Regions from separate parts of the Homo sapiens genome. Here all the other regions are linked to region 1. Evidence: promoter capture Hi-C in 16 types of primary human blood cells and fetal thymus (Javierre and others, 2016). All regions are on one chromosome and are shown on one strand. Each heading gives the region's core, a stretch centred on a gene start or on the middle of the fragment in contact. The rest is flanking DNA. Distances are from core to core; before and after follow the strand shown. Region 1 holds the start of BDH2 (3-hydroxybutyrate dehydrogenase 2). Region 2 has its middle 94 kb from the start of DDIT4L-AS1. Region 3 holds the start of TRMT10A (tRNA methyltransferase 10A).

Region 1 (5,014 bases), core at 1,705-4,204:
ACCTGGAGAGGACAGCCTCTGGTGCTGAGTTTCCTCACTACCACCATCACTCTCTCCATGACCCCTGCACACATTGCTATGACATTATTTGTGTCCTTACTACTCAGGGCTGCTTCTTGATTTCTCTTCCATAAACTTTTGTTGAGGTTTGCACTATCAATTGCTTATGATTTTTTTTCTCTTGAAAAGATTTCATAGTTGGTCTCAGATATTCATCGAAAAAAAAAAGGATGGAAAAATCAAATCACATCCAATACTCCCATTTTACAGATGAGGAAACTGCTGAAACATGCCCAATGTCATAGAGCCAGTCAATGGGAAAGCCAGAACTAAACTTAGACTTCCAGACTCTTGCTATGTGAACAGTCCAGCCCACAATGCTGCCGATCCTCTTATAAAGTTTAAGCATGCAGTAGTAACACATTAACAGGCATAATCAGTAATTTCTAAATGATTGAGAAACACTGACACCGGGGCTCATGTGCATGAGATATTTCACCAGTGCTTGGATTATAGATCACAAAGTGAGAGAAAGAGCTAGTAGTGAGGCTGGGGGTGGAGAAGAGCCAAATGACCATCAAATGAGGCTGTCTTCAAGGACACAGGCTCCAAGTCTTGCTGGGCTCTGTCATTAATGTGTGCCTCTGACCTCATACGAACTCACAAAGTGGCTGCTTTGTCCAAGGCATCATATCCACATTTCAGGCAAAAAGAAAGGGAGGAGCAAAAGCCAAAAGGCTTTCAGAGAGGTCTCACCTTTCTATTTAAGAAGGAAACCTTCTCAGAAATTCCCACCTGCAGTTCATTCACCAGATCTATGCTACTTGGCCACTCCTAGCTGCAAAGAGGTTGGAAGTTGAGACTTTTGTTTCCAGCTTTGATAAAGTGAAGAATAGGAGAAAGTGAGTTGGATGGTGTTGATGAACCAACTTACAGTACATGCAAACTAGCCTACACAATCACTCTGTTCCATTATCTGCCTGATTTTGTACAGGTTGATAGCCTTGCCTAAAGGGCTTATATTACCTAGTCCTTTCTCTTTGAACTTATTTCAGTTCTCTCTTTAGCCAAACTTTTTTTTTTTTATACCCAATATGCTCTTCCATTTCAAACCTCCACACTTGGTCCAAGGTCCACATGGTGAAGGGCAAGTTACTCCTATAGGCAACAGCCACTGAAGGATTTATGGAAAGGGTGTGAAATGATCAGATTCGTATTTTGGAAGGACTGCTGTGGAGAACATACCTGGGCAGGAGCATGGGGTGCCATTAGGAGGCTGCTAGGGTTATCTAGTGGGGGCGCTGGTGAAATAGCAGGGCTGGAGAAAATAGCAGGGATGGAGAGATAGGTGGATTGGAGAAGTGTTTCAGAGATGAGATAGGTAGGACCTGATCACCAACGTGGCTAATTTCAAAGAAATGTTATTTGCCCAGTGTTTTGCAGCTATGAATTCAAACCTAGGCCTTCTTGTTGCAGGTCCAAGGGAAGATCTCATGGCATTGTCTCATGGTACTCAAAGCCCTGCGGGCCTCTCTAAATCCCCACTGTGGCACCAGGAGCCTGTGCCTCGCAGACCGCTGACCCCAGGAAGTAATGGACAATGAGGCGCAGCTGCTGCTGCCTCTCTGGGTTTGTGCTGAGGCCACCTTCTCGGGGCCGTTACAAGCCAGTGCCTGAGCATGCATGCTTACTAAGGCAGACTCATTTCTGGGAGACATAGACCTCCTCCCCAACGGATGACTGGCTAGAGAAGCTCCTTATTACCTTGCTGAAGTTCTCTTAGACTGCACAGCTGTCTGGGATGCTTCCACTCAACCTGGTTTCCTTCTTTTCCTCCCTCGCGGGTGGACTTGCATCGAGGTCTGATGGCTCTCACAGCCTTACCTAGTTCTCTCCTCATTCTCTCTCACAACAGCATTTCCCCTAATAAAATCCATGCATATTTAATTCTATCTTGGAGTCTGCTTCTTGGAGGAGCAGACTAACACAATTATGTAAGAACTGGCTCCAGGGATCAGCTTATAATCACTGACTTCCTCTGAGTTTGTCCACATTTTTTAGGCGATGGGGAAGCTTGGCTTTAACAGTGCCTGACCTACTTTGATGCAATGAATTTTTGCTTTTTTACTTCTTACACAAAAGATAAACATGGAATGTTTATCATTTCAACATGGAATGACAGTTTCTAAAGTATAACTTTAGAAAGATATACTTTATCCTCCTTGAATCCTAAGCATGGTGCACAAAAGCTATTTTACAACACTGTCATTAGTGATATTGGGTGTATGGCCCTGTAAAGCCTCCAGTCAAAGGTTTTGCTAGGAATCTTTGCCAACCGAAGAAGCACTTCCAGAACAAATGCCGAAGCACAGAGCAGCCTTTCTATGCACTCTGAAAACCTCCTCTTAGCTGGCCTTCCTGTCTTTCTGGGACCAGATTTTGGGGTCAAAGCCTTAACATTTGATAAACTGTAATCTCAAACTAAAACAGATTTCTTTGAGAAAATGAGAGCAAACACGGCCTGAAATGGTAAAACAAGGCACCTCTCAATATATCCAATGTGAAAACCATACATGTTGGCTTCCTTAGTCCAAAAGTTAGAATCAAAATGTTGATTTTTGATTAGCAGAGACACAAACAGCATATTCAGGAAGCCATTGTTTTCAAGAGCCAGGAAGAAAACTCTTCACTTAGGATACCGTAAGAATCCTTTTTTCTTGGGCTACTTTATAAAACATACATACCACAGAGTTTCAGGCTCTTTAAAAACCCATCTTTACACTGATCTAACTGCTCAGATTAATTTTGAAACAGGCAACGTGCAGAAAAAAACAACATCTAAAAATTAAACCTCCCCTCTTTCCGTTCTAAAGTTTCATTTCAAAAGTATTAGGAAATCTTACTTTAAGCAGCGAGCTGATGGCGTTCTCCAGAACTCGGTTTGAGCAACAAACTTGAGACAACCTTTGTCTGGAAGCAAGTCAAGCGCTTAATAATGCATGCTGGGATTTGTAGTTTCCCTGCTTTCAGAGTTTAGTGGCTCCATCCATACACTTTATAAATGTATGTGCTGCCATCTAGTGGAATTCAGGTAGAACTATGAATTCCAAGTGGAAGGTGAAAAGTGGAAAAGCACCTTAGAGCTTACTTAGGATGCGGAAATCATTTCCTTCACTTCAGTCTCTCCACTTCTCTGTTTTGTTTATGCCTACTATATGCGGTGCCAGGGTAGACGAGATTGGCTGAGCTGGAAACTGCGTGTGGAAGATAGCAGAGCAACAAAATAGAGGGAACCCAGGTCACTGAAAATTCTGGAGCCTTCCTGTCACTTGGCCTGGATTGTTTTAAGGGAGAGAAATAAAAAAAAAAATCCTTTTTGTTTGAGATACAGTTGTGATTTTTATTTTTTCATGCTCAGAATATTCTAACACTAATGCACATTTAGTGGCAGAATGCCAGGAGCCTTTTACTACACTGGGAATGGGGTTGGGGAGAACGTGAAACTTGGATGACAGGGTGGAGGCTTAAAAGGGAACATGTTAACAGCGAAAAACCCCAGTTTGGCTGAAGAGAACAGAGATATAAGGTCAAAAAGAAAGGACTAGATCTCATGAGCCCTCTAGGTTAGGATAGCAACATGTGCTTTATCTGTAGTGCCAGTGAGCAGAGTGATTGTGTAGGCTACTTGTACATGTACTGTATAAATTGGTTTCCTCAGCACCCATCCAACTCACTTTCCCCTTTTTTCACTTGTCAAAGCTGGAAAACAAAAGTCTCTACTTCATAGCCTTGTTTGCTGCTAGGGGTGGCCAAGCAGCATAGATGTTGCCAATGAAATGCAGGTGGGAATTTCTGAGGAGGGCCTCCTTCTTAAATAGAAAAGTAAGCCCTTCTGAAAGGCTTTTAGCTTTTGCTCCTCCCTTTCTTTTTGCCTGGAATGAAGATAGGATGCCGTGGGACAGAGCAGCCATTTAGTGAGTTCATCTGAGGCCAGAGGCACACATTAACGACAGGGACCAGCAAGAGAAGGAGCCTGCGGCCCTGATGACAGCCTCAAGGCAACAACTCCTCTGGACTTCTTATGTGAGGACAATAAACTTTAGTGTTTTTCACGTTTTTTGTTACATGGAGCTAAGTGATTTCTAACAGTCACAGGGGATAAGAACAAAGACTGTGGCGTCAGTAAGACTAGAGCAAGTCCCATATCTCTCTCTCACTAGCTAAGTGAGTAAATCACTTAAATCTCTGAACCTCTTATGTTTCTCATCTGTAAAATGAAGGTAAAATAGCACCTACCTCAGGGATGTGGTGAGGAGGAACGACTAAGCCTGTGAATCCATCAGCACAATGTTTGCCACACAGGTGCTTAATACATGTTAGTGATTCTTATGATGAAGACATTGTTGGAGAAATTTAATTATAATGGATGGTAAAAGTTGCGCTTTTTAATGTTCTTTTAAAAACTGGACTTAGTTTCTGCATGTGTCTATATGAGGTCTATGGTAAAATTGTCCCTCCTTGTTCATTGTTTCAGCAACTTCTAATGCTGGCTCTAACAATCTGTAATCACATCTAGCTTTGTTCCTGCTTTACTAATAATGCCCTTTGACTTTTGAGGCTTTTGGAACAGACTTTATGAGAGTTCTCTAATCAAAGCCAACTCCAATGCTTCTTGATGTAGCTTTCTTCAGCATCCCTCTGTAATCTTCAGCAACAATGCTTACTTGATAACAGCCTAAGTCACATGGTATTGCAAATACTTGCTTACCCATTAGTATTCTCAGCAGACTAAATTTCTTCAAGGGTGGGGACTATGTTTTACACCTTTACATTGTGATTAGCTCGTATTAAAAGAGTATTAGTTACTTGTTTTCTTATCTACAATATGAGTTCCACATTGGTAGTGCCTTTCAGTGCCTAAAACAGTAATTGGCAGATAGTAGATGCTCATTAAATATTTGCTGAGTGAATGGCAGTTTCTTAATAAGTTTCCTGAATATAATTCTGCCAGGCT
Region 2 (4,783 bases), core at 2,178-4,677, 3.0 Mb before region 1:
AAAAGAGGATTTCAGAGCTCTCCTTCAATTTGATGCCATCATTTTGATGTCTATGCCACCCGTAACTCCAATTTCTAAACTTGAGAGCTGTACAGGCCTGTTACAAAGTGGTTACCTTTTAACCACTAACTTCCGAGAAAAAACTTGGATCACTGAGGAGAGAACGAAGACAAATACAATTGAAGCCCCAGGTAGTTTTCCTGAGGCCTCATGATTTCTTTTGGCAGAGAAACCTATGATAGCTGGTGGCCACTAGGGGTCCCCAGAAGGCTTTTTTAATGAACAAGAGGCACCCGCGCTCCTCACCCCTCCCTTTCCTTCCCACAAATGCCAGGGGTAAAAACAACTTTAAGCTCTGACGTCAGCCAGCCAGGGGAGCCACCCTGTTGTGCCCATAGGTATAGCTAAGCTTCTGAGAACTGGGGCCTGGTGCTTTCCCTGGCAGCCCAATTTTCAGCTTAAATCATTGCCTTAATGTTATTTTAATGTGCTTGGGGTCCCTGGGGGACAGAGTGGGTGGCAGGGGAACAGCATTTAATTTCCTTTGGAGTTTGGAATGTGCCTGACACTTCTTAAGTACTTGAGTGAATATGAGAGTCTGTAATCCTTGCAAGAGCAAGCAACTTTGGGGGCCTTCTTATTTGGCAAGCTTCAAGACAAAGTTAAATTTTTGCTAGGAGAGAGGGAAAAAAGGAAATAAACATGTATTAAAAGTCTGATATATGCCATGGGCTTTACATTTATTATATTATTAAATCTCAAAAATAACCTCATCCAGTTGGAATTATTGTTCTAAATGCTAATATTAGGAAGGAGACATTCAGATTAAACAATTTGCCTACTGTTTACAGCTGATAAATGACCCAGGTAAGACCACAGCACTGGTCAATTAGGATCCGCAATCCAGGCTATGCTCTCAGTATCCTTCAGCCTTCTGGTTTTACTGTGAGGGCTCTCACAAAGGAATCTACTCATTGTTTTACCTGAAGCTTTTAAAGTACATAACCAAATCCAAACCTATAAAGGTGAAATAGCACTTTTCTAGATAATAAAATTAAAGCCTGAATGTAATCAAGCAAATGCTTATTAGGGATATTTTGTCCACCAGGTGCTATGTCTAATGCAGGTTCTGTTGAGGGCCTCATGTGCTTAATTCAGAGTAAAAACAAACAAACAAACAAAAAACACTAATGTTAGGGCAAATGTATTATTTTGACCAGAATGACATAGATTGGCTGTGTCCACATCAACTAAATAAAGTGAGCAATTATCTGATGAATTGCTGCTGAAGAGAAACACTTGATTCTTTACCACATTACCAAAAGGGTAGATTGACAAATAAAGAAGAATGTATCAGGCTTGAAGGTTGGCCAAAAATTGCCAGTCAATACTCTGGAAGTTTAGCAACAGGGAAATATCATAAGGGTTTATTTGAATCAGCCCTGTCACAGTGCCCAACCCAGTGCCTGGTGTAGTGTAGGCTCTCCGTGAAGGCAGAATCAACGTTGAATGATGTTTTTAAAAATGTTTATAGGCCCACTGTGAACATCCCAGTCTCCCTTCAGCTGAAGTCACTTTATGTTGACTCAAAACAATCTGCCCTCCAAACGAAAGTGTAAAATAAGAAACCAAGGCTTAGACGCTTCAAACACCAAAGCACCCTCTTCTTATATTCCTCCTAATTGTTAGTAGAGTAAGGTGTTTGGCTATTATTAGTCTCCCAGTGCTTACGTATTTGCTGGAAATATGCCTCATCCTCATGTATTACACCTTCTGCATAATCTAGTTTTATCATGTAGAAATTCCAAGGATTTATGAAGGTGAAATGACTCTGAAGTCCCTTGGATGAGGCTTATTAAGTGGCCCATTTCTTCTGAAATTCAGGGAGCTGAACTACAGCAAGGATGGATTGCCAAAATACATATTATGTAATTTTAAGTCACTTGCGCATGACTAAAACCTTAACCATGGTCAACGTAGGAGAAAATGATAATGATGTAATTTATTTGTGCTCACGTTACCATCTCCCCACCCAACAGTGCCTTAAAATAGATACAACGGATAAACTAGTAGAACCCTTTTTAAAAACATCAATGGCCACTTTCAAAGGAAAACAAAGTAAGGAAAGGAAAAAGAAGATCTGAAAAGGAACATTCAAAGGTGGGGTCTTAATTTCATCTGTGCTCATGGGAGACAGGGGGTGACATCATTTGGTAGAGAAGATGTCTGAAAATTCAGCCTCTTGAAAAGAACAATGTCAATCTATTCTCACTTTTAAAATTTGAAAAAGAGGAATGGTAATAACAACATTTACCATTTATTGAGCCTTCTTATGTGCCAGGTTCTAACCCGAACTGAAATCTAAAATAATTTCTCTTGAATCCTTAGAAGTTTGATGTTATTATCCTGATGTGTATGAGGAAAAAACTTAAAGAAGTTAGTATTTGCCTACCCTCCTACAGCTCATGAGTTTTGATGGTTTCTTGAGTTGTTGGGAAGATTTGCTAACACTGGTGGTCTCACTGTGCTTTTTCACTGGGGCATATGGTTATGGGTTAAAGAGTGGTGGCCTTGGCTTAGGGTTAACAAAAGTAATATTAATAGTAGCTGCAAGTTATTGAGTGTCCACTGTGAGCCAGTCTCTTCACGCTTATCATCTCTTAATTTTCACCAAATTATCTGCAAGGAAAGTTTTATCTTTTAATTTTCACAGAGGAAAGAAAGTTGACTGAGGAAACTGAGGTTTATGTTGCAAGAAAGTGATGAAACCAGGATCAAAGCCAGCTTTGCCTGTGTTCTTTCCACCTTCCAGTCCCCGCTGTCCTGTGAGGATAATTAGCAAACGCAGACGTGCTCGCTCGCACAGAACACGCTCCCTCTGGTGGAAGTCAGAGAGGTACACAATGAGGCCCTTGTATGAGTCAACCCTTTCTGGGTTTCAGGAGAATCTGACCTTGTTTCTTACTTTGTCATCTCCTGTTGCTTAGCTAGAGACCCTAAATATGCATCTTCTATTTGTGACTCTGTTTTTCTGTTTTGCTTATTATTATTAAAAATAGCTGACAAAACAAACAGTAGGGCAACTTACAAAATATGAATGAATGACACATACCCACAGTCTCTCCTTTTTTTTTGTTTTATTTTGTTTTCTTTCCCACTTTAGACACTTTGGGTGGTTAGCAAAATCTACCAGAATATATCTTACTTGTTTTCAGGATCTGTCAGAAAATTGTTATGTTGTCTTGGATCCTGAGCCTGCTGTTTTGCCCACACCCTTGTTTGGCATGAGGTGAGACTAGGAATAAGAGAATAAACAGTTGCTTGTACAACATTTTCATAGAGAGGAAGTTATTATATGACACCCAAGCAGAGAAACTCTTCTTCTTAATCCAGGATGACTGAGGAGGCCAGAGCTCTCCTTTTTGCTCTGGAACCATGAGCCTGCATTCCCTCGCTGCCTTTGGCACCTTGGCTTTCTACCTTCATGTTCTGAATATGTTGTGTTTTTCTCTCCCATTATGCTGTAAACTTGGCAATAGTGGGGACCGAGTTCCCTAACTGATTTTATCCTGTTTCTAGTAGTAAAAGGTTTTCAGTCAGGCTTGGTGGAAACAAATATAAAGAAGATAAATAGATTGGATATGAGTTCAAGTACCTGACAAGGAATTTGGACATTCTTTTATAGTCCAGTAGTTCTTAAACTTTTTTTTTTCCTAGGCCAGCGCCTGGGGATGTGATACACTCTGACCAGTGATTATTATCCTCTTTTCTTGAGTGCATGTGAGTGTGTTTTGTGGGGAGGGGAGAAGAGCAGGCACAGGCAGCCATCTAGTAAAAAGTTCCAATGAGAGGCATCTAGTTTTTGAAAAAAAAAAAAAAAAAAAGAAAAGAAAGAAAAAAAAAATCCCTTCATGGCATGTGAAAACCATCCTCCCAGCCCTGACCAGGGCGGTGGAGAGAGTGAAGAGCCACTGAAGTTTTTGAGTGGGAACATGGGAAGATGAGACGTATTTTTGGAATACCATTGTTCAGGTGTACTGGGCTCGGAGTGGGCATGAACTCAGAGATAGGAGGAAACTATAGTCCCTTTATTTTAATGCTGTGAAAATCTGAGCTATATTGTGGATAAGGAGCTGAAGAGGAGGGGTGAATGTGAGACATACAATGAAGGAATAATTGATAAGGGGAAGAAAGGAAGAATCATTACTACCTTTAGAGAATCTGAGCTTCCCTGATGGGGATAGAGTGATTCCATTAATAGTTACAGGGTAGTAAAATGGAAAAGCCAGGGCAGAAGACGTTTTCACTTTCTTAAGTTGACATCGGTTAGAATTAACTCTTGTTTAATTTTCATATTTGTAAATAGTTTTGTAGTCAAGCATTCCTCCTTACAAATATTTATTTTGTTGGAGGATGTTTAGTTTGCTAGGTACAAATAATTTGATGGCACAACTGTTTTTGCATGTTTCATCCTCTCTGAATTAAGACTCTTTATTTTTCATGAAATCTTTATTGATGCTAACATGTGAGAGTGAATACTTACAGAAATATGTGTGAGTGATGACAGTTTGAACAGATGGAATTAGTCAAATTCTCTTAAGTTCAGATTCATGTCTATAGATCAGTTTCTACAATCCAGATCATAGTCCTTTCTTTTATGGGGAAAATATCCCATGGCTTAATGGGGCAGATACTCTTCAAAGATAGCTGTCAAATCCTCTCCTTTCTTTATGCATGTGCAGCTTTTTTCTATCAGGAGGTGGGTTCTATCTCTCTTTTTCTG
Region 3 (4,993 bases), core at 1,762-4,261, 3.5 Mb before region 1:
GCAACCTCCGCCCACTGCAACCTCCGCCTCCCAGGTTCAGGCGATTCTACTGCCTCAACCTTCTGAGTAACTGGGATTACAAGCGCGCGCCACCACGCCTGGCTAATTTTTGTATTTTTAGTAGAGAAGGGGTTTCGCCACGTTGGTCAGGCTGGTCTCGAACTCCTGACATCGTGATCCGCCTGCCTCGGCCTCCTGAAGTGCTGGGATTACAGGCGTGAATCACCAGGCCCGGCCTACGTGAAGACTTTTTAAAGAGCAATGTAATGTTTTACAGGTCATGTACACCAGGGGGAGCATATGCCTTTCCTATCTAAGAAGTCTTAAGTTAAATTTAATATGACCTGTCATAGTACATTAATGTTTCAATCTCTCAAACACAAGGAAAGGTCATGAGATGGTCAACATCTTCATCATCATCATCATCATCTTTTTAAAAACTATTCCTAACTAAGAAAACGACTGTACTAAGTGAAGTTTTTAGGCTTTAAATAAGCCAGGTGCACTGAGACAAATGGAATGCAACAAAAATGATGCTAACCTGATATCTTATAAATTATTCCGTATAGTATACTTTACAAAGATATCTACCAACTCGCACTGTCTACACTATACAATAAGTATAATGTATATCTACACTGCACTATGTACTAGCGTGTTCAGATTACCTGTTAAGCAAAACAGCATTTTATTAGGTATACTTGCTTTCTAATTGTTTTAGTTTGGGCAATAATTTATAAAATTCCATGGCAGAGTTTTTCATTCCTTTCTCACATGCAGTGATGCTCACAGTACATTTTCATTCATTCAACCAAGTTCAACAAATGTTCAAGAACGTATTTTACAGTAACTATAAAAATATTTGTGTGAGGTCGGGCGCAGTGGCTCATGCCTGTAATCCCAACACTTTGGGAGGCTGAGGTGGGCGGATCACCTGAGGTCAGGAGTTCAAGACCAACATGGCGATACCTCGTCTCTACTAAAAATACAAAAATTAGCCAGGCGTGGTAGTGGACGCCTGTAATTCCAGCTACTCGGGAGGCTGAGGCAGAAGAATCGCTTGAACCCGGGAGGCAGAGGTTGCAGTGTGCCATGATCGCAGCACTGCACTCCAACTAGGGCAACAGAGTAAGACTCCGTCTCCAAAAAAAAAAAAAAATTATATATATATATATGTGTGTGTGTGTGTGTGTGTGTGTGAAATTTTACTCCTGCATAAAATTTTAAAAATTTGTGGGGTTCATTCGCAGACATAGGTTATTAAGTGGGCTTACAAACTATCTCACTTTGTAAGGCAAGGACACATCCTACATCAATGAGCACCAAAAGAAAAAAAAAAGTTTTTTAAAACTGCATTAAGTTATGGATTGGGATAAAATAAATAATCGTCGTTAATTTATGACAGTCTCCTTTTCAGAAAAATCTCAACGAATGTGGGAATAATGCAGATTGGAATTAATGACTTGACAGCGATAGCAAAGGAATGCCTTTTTTTTTTTTTTTTTTTTTTTTTTTTGAGAGGGAGTCTTGCTAGGTCGCCCAGGCTGGAGTGCAGTGGCGCAATCTCGGCTCACTGCAACCTCTGCCTCCCGGGTTCAAGCGATTCTCCTGCCTCAGCCTCCCGAGTAGCTGGGACTACAGGTGCGCGCTACCACGCCCAGCTAATTTTTGTTATTTTTAGTAGAGACGGGGTTTCACCACGTTGGCCTGGATGGTCTCCATCTCTTGACCTCGTGATCCACCCGCCTCGGCTTCCCAAAGTGCTGGGATTACAGGCATGAGCCACTGCGCCCGGCCTTTCTTGTTTGTTTGAGACGGAGTTTCGCTCTTGTTGCCCAGGCTGGAGTGCAATGGCGCAATCTCGGCTGATTGCAACCTCCGCCTTCTGGGTTCAAGTAGTTCTCCTGCCTCAGCCCCCCCAGTAGCTGGGATTACTGGCATGCGCCACCACGCCCGGCTAATTTTGTATTTTCAGTAGAGACGGGGTTTCACCATGTTGGTCAGGCTGGTCCCGAACTCCTGACCTCAGGTGATCCACCCGCCTTGCCCTCCCGAAGTGCGGGGATTACAGACGTGAGTCACCGCGCCCGGCCAGGAATGCCCTTTTAAAAGACATGCGGACTAAACGTGGAGGAGCGAAAAGCCCTTTGTTCACTTCAGTTGTCAAGCCTTTTGGGCAGAGGGTTGGGAATGGAAGGGGCAGATGAAATTCTTTCAGAAAGTGACAAGTAATGTGTTGCCATCCTCTTCATATCTGTAGAAAAATTCCCAAATTTAAAGTATTTCAGTGAAATCAAGTAACACTTCGATCTTTATAAAACTGTCCTCAGCTCACAGCACCTGCAGCAACTTCCCCTCGGGCTCTCTACATTTCAGAGAGTTCAGCGACGTCAGCCCTTTGCAGGAAAAATGAGGTAAGGCAGCTTTAAAGAGGTAAAGCCCACGGTCTCTAGCCACGAAGTGGCAGGGCCATAACACGCTTTCCGGCCCTTTAGAGTACAGATTTCCCACTGATTCTTTGCAAACTCACTTTTCACATACTACGGGCCGATGGCAACCCCAAAACACACGCCGACGGAAAGCGCCCCACCACGGGGCGGAGCCTCGCCCACTATCCCTTCTAGGCTCCCAGCCAGCAAACGCATTTCAGAGACGGGATTAAGCTGTCTCTGGCGAACCAGGGAGCAGCTGGGTAGGCCGCGGGGGGCGCCTGTCATCGACGTCATTTCCTTCAGCAAGAGCGCCGCAGGAAACCACTTCCACACCACTGCTCCCCTCTCCCCCGGAAGCCCTTGTTGCTAGTAGGGGGCTGCATGGCACGCGCCCCTTTGCGTCCAGAGAATACCATAGTGCGGGGGAGCGCCAACCAGTGCCAGGACACTTACCGAGCTGAAGAGTTGACAGGGAAGTGAAATCTCAGAAAGAAAGCCTTTCTGGGTTGGCCTGGTTACGGCTCACGCTTCCTTCCACAGAAACTTCAATTCCCAGAGGCAGGGGCGGTAGTTACGCAGTGGAGGCTACGGCGGTTGCGTCTTACGTCATCGAACTGCGGCCATTTCGAACCCGCAATGGAAGAAAGGGGAGGGGTTTATGCGGGGCGGGGTCTGGAGTTAGTGTTTTGGGAGTGGGAGGTAGTTACAGTGATGTCTGTTTTTTCCCGTTCAAGAATTAAGTGTGTACCTGCAGACGTGTATTCATTCATATATTCTTGTGAGTATTGGATGAAGGAATTAAGATAGTCCCACTGTTAAAAATGCAAAACAACGAAGAAAGGCTCCTAATTTTTCTGTGTTGAAAATGAGAGAAAAACATCTCTTGCCTATATTATTTTTAATTTATACAGAAAATTACCATATCACATGATTTTACATAACTCAAGTGGAAAATTAAATTCAAAAAGTGAGTCAGATTCACAATAAAATGCATTTAAATTTAGAATCTGTAAGGCTTTTTTATGGCTGAAGTAAAACAGCCATAGCTTTACTCTTTATTCATTCCTTGAGCTATTTTTCCTATGCTGTTTTGCAAAACATCAGATGACATTTCATTGTTTATAATACTTGACCTTATATAATCTTTTGCTATATATAGATCATGTCAACTGAGAGAGAAATGAAATACAACCCCGTAGATTGTCATTTTCTATTTAGTTTTTTTCTCCTCTACTTCTAATAGGTGATTATTGCAGAATTTGAAGGTAAGAATGAGGTTTGCATCTTGAATAGAAGACTGGCTTCTCATATAGAAAGAATTTTGAAGTAAATTATCCTTGAAGATATTTGAACATGTTTAAAGGCTTCAGTGAATAGAAAATTAAATCCAGAATTTGAGATTCTCTAAAAGAGCCGAAATTTCTTTGACTTTAGTTACAAAACTAAAGTCACTCTTGCCATAAGCCCTTAAATTTTACTTGAAACACTGTATCAGCTATAACACTGTTGTGAGTCCCTCTTCTGTTTCTTCCTCATCTCAAACCTAAAAGATCTTTGTTAACTGAGCACTGGCAAAAAAGTCTGGATCCACTTCTGATCTGTTAGTAGGGCATCTTTTTTCAGCTGCCTCCATATGAGGGCAAAGAGTAGCTGAGGGAGGATTAGTAATTGGATATGTAGCCCTTCACATGTAGGTCATTAAATTCAGGCTGGCAAAGTGATGTGCCAAATCTTTCCACAGCTGTTCAGTTGCTCCTATGGGATCTGTTTTATAAATAATTATACAGTTTTTTCAGAGTTAATACCTGGCCTCCTTAGATATTTTAAACAAAGTTTTAAAGCAAAAAAAACCACTTCATATTCTAATAATGAAGTCAATAAATTTTCTTTTGACATAGACATTTAACTTTGTAGTCATTTGGTGCAAAATTTAAAATGATTCTATTATTAATCCAAAGTAAGCACCAAAAGAGCACCAGCAAAAGTCAATTTAACAAAAAATTGAAACATATAGAAAGTTTAAGACGGTGAAATCATGTGAAACAATATTTTCATTGATTTGTAAAATTTATGTATTTATTTATTTGACACATGTATCGAGTTCTATGCGTTTTGTCTTAGTATTGGTGATACAGAAATGACGAAATCATGCTCTCTGTGCTTAAGGAATCCTTAATCTAATAGGGGAGCCAGCAGTAAATAAATACCATACAACATGTACTTGAGATGCTTGTACTTTGAAAGAAGCAACTAAATGCTCCTTGAGGCAGAGGACATAGTTTTGGAGATTAAATAATTTTGTTTCATCTTGGAAAGTAAGTAGGAGTTGTACAGGTGTCAGAAAAGTGAAGAAGTTTAAGATATTGGGAACAGTGAAAGCAAAGACCTAAGCGTGTCATAGTTTTGCACATGACTGAAAAGCTGTGGATAGAATGAGGAAGAAGGAGGAGATAATAACCCTAAGGGCTTCTCTAACTTGGACAACTGTAGGAATGCAGTAACATTAACCGGGTCATTTAGGGAATACTGGAAGAAAAATAGGTTTTGAGGCCGGGCGTGGT

The links. The method cuts DNA at HindIII sites, captures the fragments that hold promoters and counts their contacts. A CHiCAGO score of 5 or more calls a contact.
Region 2: a contact is called between a fragment that was not itself captured here and the fragment with the promoter of BDH2 in region 1, in 3 of 17 cell types (non-activated CD4 T cells, naive CD8 T cells and total CD4 T cells). The highest score is 9.7, in non-activated CD4 T cells.
Region 3: the fragment with the promoter of TRMT10A here is called in contact with the fragment with the promoter of BDH2 in region 1 in 1 of 17 cell types (non-activated CD4 T cells); the score reaches 5.2 in non-activated CD4 T cells.

What each region holds. Positions count from the first base shown.
Region 1 is chr4:103,096,880-103,101,893 of GRCh38, forward strand. It overlaps BDH2 (3-hydroxybutyrate dehydrogenase 2), which reads right to left and starts at 2,955. Exons shown (of 10, transcript NM_020139.4): 1 at 2,904-2,955. The HindIII fragment of the contact is 3,413 bases long and covers 2,072-5,014 here.
Region 2 is chr4:100,093,326-100,098,108 of GRCh38, forward strand. No RefSeq gene overlaps it. Among named protein-coding and RNA genes, the nearest start is that of DDIT4L-AS1, 94 kb to the right of the region's middle. The HindIII fragment of the contact is 4,881 bases long and covers 988-4,783 here.
Region 3 is chr4:99,561,028-99,566,020 of GRCh38, forward strand. TRMT10A (tRNA methyltransferase 10A) reads right to left here and starts at 3,012. Exons shown (of 8, transcript NM_001134665.3): 1 at 2,886-3,012. It also overlaps a transcript of MTTP not described here. RefSeq lists enhancers at 2,116-3,315, 2,551-2,680, 3,031-3,090. The HindIII fragment of the contact is 8,482 bases long and covers 1-4,993 here.